Regions from separate parts of the Homo sapiens genome. Here region 2 is linked to region 1. The links are contacts of gene promoters, found by promoter capture Hi-C in blood cells and fetal thymus (Javierre and others, 2016). All regions are on one chromosome and are shown on one strand. The core of a region is centred on a gene start or on the middle of the fragment in contact, and the rest is flanking DNA. Distances in the headings are between cores, read along the strand shown.

Region 1 (4,382 bases), core at 1,616-4,115:
TGATACACGTTACTTTAACATAACTAAGTCTATATACAGAGAGCAGTAGAAACCTCTTATGAACTATGATGGAAATGATTGCATTAACCATCCTCTTTTTGGACTGAAATAATGCTCCTAAAACGTAAGAATGGTTTAAAGAAAAGTTTACGTGTCAGCTAATAGCAAGAAATCAAAATGATATTTTAAAAATCACTTATTTTTTTTTAAGAATAAAAATCTCTTCTCCAACGAAGTGTTTTCCAAATATCCTACCATTTCTCCAATCTACTTCAAAAGAGTATCAGTCATGGTTTTCAACTTCTATAGGGGAAAAAGTAATATCGACAGCTTGATAAAAGCATCTTCCTTTTAAACTCATTCTACCAGCTGGACACTAGTCTGCAAATAAAATTCAGGCTTTTTTCCCCCTTGGGTATTAACAAACCAGTGTAAGTCTGCACAATGTATTTTCAGCTAAATTCTTTCCTCGTCTGAATATTTTTGTTCTCTTCACTCCTCCTCAAATATTCTTCATGGAATACACACCCAGAGATTTCCACTTTCCCAGTTCTGCGTAGTTCATAAAACTATTCCGATAACTAATTCTTACCAACTACTATGAAAATTATGAGATTATGAAAACTATACAAGATTAAGAACATTAAAAGTATCCTACATAAGTACACTTAACACTCATTTTCCTTCCATTTTAACACCTCATCTGTCTCTAAAACACATAACGAGTTAAACTTGACCTTAGCCAAGATGCCTGTAGAGCTTCAGAAATTTATTCAGTGCCTGTATCAAATATAAAAGATCCTTAAGTAGTAAAACTTTTCTCCCCTTGTCTATAATCTCCAGGGGTAAACATTTCAAATTTTTAAAGGCTCCTGCTTTTAACCCAAATTAAAGATTTTTCTCAACAAGACTGTTAATATAACGACTTCATCTTACACGGTGGACACTATCCTCATTTTGCTTTTAAGCCACTTGGCACCAATAGAGCATATGTTCTGCCAGTTCTGAGCTAATCTCCAGGAAAGGCTTTGTATAACGATTAAAGAAACTCAGATCAGTGCCCAAGATTTTTAACGGCCTACTTGAGCATATGTTTTTTTGTTTGTTTGTTTGTTTGTTTTGGTATGTTTTTGCGACGGAGTTTCGCTCTTGTGGCCCAGGCTGGAGTGCAGTGGCACGATCTCGGCTCACTGCAACCTCTGCCGCCCGGGTTCAAGCGATTCCCCTGCCTCGGCTTCCCAAGTAGCTGGGATTACAGACATGCGCCACCACGCCTGGCTAATTTTGTATATTTAGTAGAGACGGGGGTTTCACTATATTGGTCAGGCTGGTCTCGAACTCCTGACCTCAGGTGATCTACCCACGTCGGCCTCCCAAAGTGCTGGGATTATAGGCATGAGCCACCGCGCCCGGCTGTGCATATGTTTTTAATACACAGTTAATTTACGATAAAATAGCTATTTCACTAGCCTTTCTTTATAATTTACATAAACCATTCTAAAATGAAAACGAAATACATGACTGCAGATGCAGGCTCATTTCAACTTTAGGATTAGAGGTAATTCCGAACCATTACATACACAGCACTGGATCTGCAACACACTTCACCTTAGTTCGCAGTTTAACCACGGGTGTCCAGTGGAAATTACAATCCCGGTGACTACACTGCTTTAAATGTTTCCTAAGGTTTCAACGAGTGCAACAGTAACTTCCTATCCCAGACAGCGTCTTACTGTTATTACTAAAACAGCTGTCAGCTAAGCTTCGCATACCTCTTTGTACAACCGTTTATTCAACGCTTTGGGATCTGTAAGGATGCGTCACTCCACATCACTCCTCAAAACGAGATCTAAGAACCTGACGTGCTCCAGGGGTCTTGAAGCATCACAAGTGGGTACTTGAAAAACGATGACGGGAACTGCCTGTCCAATGCGGCAAGGTTATTTTACACTGGCATTTAAGACAGAACTGTAGAGTGGCTGCTCTTTCCCCGGACACTACTAAAGCAGCAATTTCCCCTTCTTGATTTCATCCACCTCTCCCAGGACCCGGGTACCTCCGACGCTCCCGGCCCGAGCGGCCGCGGCAGACTCCCCGGCGTCGGCGCACGCTCGGCGGCTGGCGGCGGGAACGCGCGGCGGGCCGGGCGCGCCCCCGCCCCCGCGGGTCCGACCGCCGCACGCCAGCGGCGCCCTCTCGGCCGCGCACACTCACACTCGCACGCACACGCTCCTCCGGCCCCGCCATGTTCCGGGAGGCGGCGGCAGCCCAGCCCCGCCAGCCGCGGTGAGGGGCGCCCGCGACGAGGCCAGCTCGCGGCCCTCCGCCCGGCCCCCGCCCCGCCCCGCGCAGCGCCCCCGCCCAGTTGGCGGCTCCCACCTGCGCCGCGGCTCCTCGCGACGCCGGGAGGGGCGGCGGCGGGCGGGGCCCCGGCGGACCCGCGCCGGGGGGCACTAACGGCCTGTCACTGTCAGGCGAGCTACGGCTCGGGCCAGGCTGGGCGGGCGGCGCGTCGGGACCGGGGGGGGCGGGCAGGGCGCGTCCCCTACCTTGCTCTGGGGAGGGGGAACGGGAGCAGCGCAGAACTGAGGGGATCTCCTCCCTGGCGCCGGGGACAAGCTCGAAACCGCGCCCCTCCTTCCTCCTTTCCTGTCGCCACGCCCCCCTCACCCGTACGGACCCGAGGCAAGGCCGGCGCAGGAGGCTTCACCCCCGGAACGAGTGCTTCGGCGTAGCCGTCGCTGTCGTTGTCTTCGTCGCCGCTGCAGCCGCCTGTAAAGCCGCCGGAGCCGGGCTTGAAAACATCTCCGGTCTCGGTCCGTCTCTCACCACAGCCTCCTCGCTCCCAGGACAGCGTCGCCCCGCGATTGGCTGCGACGCGAGCACGTGACACCCGCGGACACGTGACTACCGCGGGCACGGGACGGGCGGCGTGACCGCCCCGCCCCCCGGCGCCCGCCCCTCCTGCTGCTCAGCCAGGCTCCGCGAGCCGCAGGGCGGGGAAGCGGGACGTACCAAGCGGCAGGCGGCGGAGGGGTGCGGGCCGGAACTCCGCCCTTCGTGCTGGTCGGTCTCCACGCCCCACTCGGACTAGTGTCACCGCCTCCCCGCCGCAGACACTATCCGACAAAGGAGGGGGAATCAAAGGCTGGGCGAAGAGGCAGGGCAGGCGCCGGTGACGCTGCTGGGCAAGCGGGCTCTGCAGTAGCATTTGTGGCGACCGTGGCAGTGGCTGTGACTGGAAGCTTCTGGAAATGGCGGCGATGAGGACCCCCACATAGGGTATTCACCTGTTATTTTTACACGGGGTGGGTGGACGAGCGTGATCCAACTCAGGCAAAATGACGCTGCGACCGCAGCCCGAGGACTAGGCGAAGTTCCCCCGCTAAGCCGGCGGCGGCCGTCTGGCCCCGCACCAGGCCGGAGAAGCTGCACCTACGCCCAGAGCCCGCGGCCCCCCGCCTCAGGTGGGGCCCTGGGCCCCGCCCCGAAAGCGCGGTAGCGTGCACCTGCCCTGGCACCAGGGGGTCTAGAGCGCGTCCCCTCCCAGCCACGCCTTCCAGTGGCCTTTTTAAAGAGGAATTCAGTGCACCCTCCCACACGTAGTGTTGGGGATTTGAGAGGGAGCTGCTCAGGTACTAGGAAGGGTGCCGGAGGAAAATTGACCGTCGCAGCGTGGCAGCAGCGTGTACTCACTCCCTTCTGGGCGCGTTATTTACGTAGAGGTTAATCTGCAACAACAGCGTCTGTTTATGACTTAGTGCATGCAGTTACAAGTTTATGTTACACTGTCCTTTAACGTCTTGATGAACTGAGGGTTCAGGTGTGATCACAGCAGATGAAGTGACATTCAGACCTGACAGGGACGGCGAGGTCCCATCAAATTACTATGTAAAGCATAAACCTGCATTAAAGATCAGGAGTTTTTCCTTTCCTGGGTTCCTGATTTCTCCCACCTACAAATCTTTAGGGTCAACAAGACTAGAAAAAGAGCACCTTATGGCTAGAGGTGGAATAGTGTTACATTTAACTTGGTTATTTATGATGTGAAATACAAAGAAAAAAACAGTCGCCTATGAGAAAGTCAGGAGAGCTCCAGGGTAGGACATTTTCATTGTTACTTTTTTGTGCCACTTGGAAAATTAACTGTTGTTTACCTTCTCTCAATTAAAAAAAAAATCTTAAAGACATACTTAAAAATAATCGTTATAGCCGAGCGCAGTGGCTCACGCCTGTAATCCCAGCAATTTGGGAGGCTCAGGCGGGCAGATGGCTTGAGCCCAGGAGTTTGAGACCAGCCAGGCAACATAGTAAGACCCTGTCTCTAAAAAAATATATGAAAATTAACCAGGCTGGTGGCGCCTGCCTGTGCTCCCAGCTGC
Region 2 (3,804 bases), core at 745-3,244, 220 kb before region 1:
GTTGAGCATCCTGTATCCAAAAATCTAAACTCTTTCAATGAGCATTTCCTTTGATGTCATGTCAATGCTCAGAAAGTTTCCGATTTTGGAGCATTCTGGATTTCAGATTTTTGGATTTGAAATGTTCAACCTGTATTTATATTATTAACTAAACTAAGGAGAAACAAATTAGAAAAGTAACAAATCTATTCAAAGAATATAGTCTCTCCTTTTTCTGCAGCTTCCAAATGGTAGCTTGCTAAATGAATTACTGTATATTATGCCAAATAATTTTTTTAAATGAATGTCAATTTAATAGTTCCCATTAGAGAAATCTGAGTCTGTGAAGCATTCATTATGCCTTTTACTGTCAGGTATTTGTGAAGTGTTTTAAACTAGAATGAAAAGGTGGGTGAGAATGAGATTACTGCGAACAAACAGAAAGTTAAAACTAACGGCCTATTTAAAAGTCGCTTGAACTTGCCCAGGTTATCTAGCTCTGAAGATTAAATGTATTTCACACCCTCTTAATAGATGCCTGTCCTGCACTTTTACATACTGGTGTAAGAGAGTAATATGCTGTAGTCATATGCTTACTGCTTTATAATTTAGTGATAGAATACAACGTTAAAAGCTATGGTAAGGAGAAACAAGAGGGAAACGACAGAGATAAGCTTTCATTACTGTACAATTAAAGAGACAAAAATCCAGTTTAAGACTTTAATGGTAAAAACTACTATTAAAACTTGTTGGACACCAAACAACAATATCCTGGCTAATATTTTTCTTTCTTTCTACATTACTACAGAAAAGACTAAAAAACCATTGTCTTAATAAAGCAGAAATTTAATCACCATAAATTAAGAAATGTTCATAATTTGGGTAAATGAGCCTCCACATACATCAAATACTCTCTATTCTTCATAACTCACGTCAGCATTCTTTTTAGGAGATGGGCAAATAAGAAAAACAAGCTCTTCAAACCGACCTTTTGAAAACAGAGTTTGTGCCTGAAAACAGCATCTGTGCCTTTTCCATTTTCAAAAACACACCTCTTACTTTTCAGGAGAAATATAATAGGCAAATTTAATAGATGGCATTTAAAATCTTACTGCAAATCAGGAGAGCAAAAATATGTCTACTCTATGACTACTGTTTTTAAGTCAAGAAACAAACTGAAACAATGAATTTCCACATGCAAATAATTATAAATAGCAGTTTTATGAAGCTCATCAAGTAATTCATTCTTTTCTATTCATTCTACATGCCCTTAAAAATCACATTATTGAATAATGTTTGGTTGTGAACATATTTAGAAATGTATAATATTTTTAACAGCAAGCAAGCTGCGGTTAGGATGAATGTTTCTAAATATAATAACATTTGTAAAGTGCTTTGAACTCAAGTATTGAAAATAGAAAAGAAAAAACAACTCAGAACAACTCTCTGTGATGAAACAAGGATTACAGAAAAACATAAAAACTGCCCCATTTAAATCAAGCAGAATCTGTTCTTCAGAACACTTAAAAAGAAAACTTTAGGCCGGGTGTGGTGGCTCACGCCTGTAATCCCAGCACTTTGGGAGGCCAAGGCAGGCGGATCACAAGGTCAGGAGATCGAGACCATCCCGGCTAACATGGTGAAACCCCGTCTCTACCAAAAAATACAAAAAATTAGCTGGGCATGGTGGCGGGTGCCTGTAGTCCCAGCTACTCAGGAGGCTGAGGCAGGAGAATGGCGTTAACCTGGGAGGCGGAGTATGCAGTGAGCCGAGATGGGGCCACTGCACTCCAGCCTGGACAACAGAGCGAGACTCTGTCTCAAAAAAAAAAAGAAAACTTTACCCCTAGCTGTTTCACTTATAAGAACACATGTCTTCTATAACCAGAAAGGCTAAAGTCAAGATAAAAAGAAAGGTTTTACCAAAATTTTAAAAGTATTTCTTTAATTATATAAGACTTTGGAAAATATCTACTAGAGTAGAAAGAAAGAACCCTAAATTCCTCCCCCTTTGGTAAATTCCTATGCATGTCTAACAAAATAATGATTATATACTACCTTGATCTAAAAAAATAGCATTTCTCTATCATAAAAAATCTGTCAACATAATTTAATCAGCGCATAATAGTACATCAATGTGCCAAAATTCAGAAACAGTGATTAAATTCTTAATCCTTTCCACACCTTGTCCACTTTCTCATTTTTTATCACCTTCATAAACTTCATCAGTTTCTATTTTACTATTATTTCAAAGTCTCCACTCCTTAAACAGAAAATACGGTAGAGTTGAAATTTAGAATCTTCTCTTTGGACTGGGTTATTTATATATTTTACTAACCTCACTATGACTAAATTTGGGTTCTGCTCAGTTGAATGGAACATGTGATCAAAACTAAACACCAAGTTCCCTGAAGTCCAAAATAAAGACTGACTCAATGCTTCCAATTATTTACTGCTACCACCTCCCCCAAAGTCCTTAAATGGGTTCTATTTAACCCTTATAGGCACTGTGCTAAGTATTTTATATGCATTGTCTTGAATCTCATAAAGATTCATGTCGTTATTATCCTTATTTTTTAAGTGAAGTCATGAAATTTATACAACTTCATTCAATTAGTGGCTAGAATTTGACCCCAGTTATGGTTAGGTATTCCTGTTTTGTAAACATTAAAATGAGAAATATAAAAGTTATTTTTCATTAAATTAACATTTTAATAATTACAGTTATTACTCTCTTAGAAAGAATAAGCCTATAATTAAACTTAGATAATTCTTTAGATTGTTTAATCAAAGGCATTATTATATCTTTCACTCTCAGTACCTGAATACAACTAGAAATGCTATTGCCCAAGTTTAATCATTGTTTGTAAAGGTAAAATTGGACTCATTGGCTAAGAGTTGCAAAACCAGTGACTTGGAATGCAATACTTAATTTTTTTTGTTGTCGCTTCAGCTGGTTAATGACTATATCTTCTGCTTCCCTAGTCTGCAAGTCACAGAGAAAGTGTGGTTGTTCCTCATGTGGAGAAGAGAAGGCTGAGAATGAGTGGTTTCATGATTTCTGTGAGTTCACACAACTGCGGCTTTGAAACAAGGTCTTCTGACTCAAGGCTTTTTCTACCACCACTGCTCTTGCATGTTAGAGGCAAGGTAATATGGAATAAGACATCTTCTATGTGTAAATAACTATGCTAGATGTTCTTAAAGTTTGGTAGACACGTTGTTCAATAATTTTATGATGGAAAAAAATTAAAACTTTACACTAAATGGTAAACTGAAATTTATACATTTGAGCTACTCTCTATTGACCAGTATGAGTATTTAGAGAGAATTTGGCAAACTGTTTTCAAAGCTTATATGAAATGAAAGTCTGGCAGGATGAAAAGTTTGAGGGAAAAATCTAATCATTCAAAATGTATTTTACTACATTTATATTAAGGAAAACCTTCAATATGACAGAGAATTTCAAATTTTTAGATGCCAGAAGACAGATTCGATCATCTTTAGAGAAGAATCTTATTCCATATACAGTCACGCTTTATCGCTTAAGGATAGGGATACATTCTGAAAAATGCATCCTTAGGCAATTCTGTTGTTATATGAATATCAGTATATACTTATACAAACCTACATGGTAGAGCCTGCTATAACCCTAGGCTATATGGTATGGCCTATTGTTCCTAGGCTACAAACCTGTACAGCATGTTACTGTTCTGAATACTGTAAGCAATTATAACACAATGGTAAATATTTGCATGTCTACACATATCTAAACATAGAAAAGGTACAATAAAAATACAGTATTATAATCTTATGTGACCACCA

The links. Contacts are between HindIII fragments. The CHiCAGO score rates a contact against its expected background, and 5 or more counts as called.
Region 2: a fragment that was not itself captured here is called in contact with the fragment with the promoter of ANKRD12 in region 1 in 2 of 17 cell types (megakaryocytes and M2 macrophages); the score reaches 5.0 in megakaryocytes.

The regions. Positions count from the first base shown.
Region 1 is chr18:9,135,264-9,139,645 of GRCh38, reverse strand. ANKRD12 (ankyrin repeat domain 12) reads right to left here and starts at 2,865. Exons shown (of 13, transcript NM_015208.5): 1 at 2,681-2,865. NDUFV2-AS1 (NDUFV2 antisense RNA 1) reads left to right here and starts at 2,926. Exons shown (of 3, transcript NR_110772.1): 1 at 2,926-3,282. RefSeq lists silencers at 2,098-2,147, 2,188-2,587, 2,798-3,147, 3,498-3,587, 3,590-3,763 and enhancers at 2,718-2,767, 3,258-3,307. The HindIII fragment of the contact is 1,483 bases long and covers 1,765-3,247 here.
Region 2 is chr18:9,352,971-9,356,774 of GRCh38, reverse strand. All of the region lies in intron 2 of TWSG1 (twisted gastrulation BMP signaling modulator 1), which reads right to left. Among named protein-coding and RNA genes, the nearest start is that of TWSG1, 20 kb to the right of the region's middle. The HindIII fragment of the contact is 2,678 bases long and covers 656-3,333 here.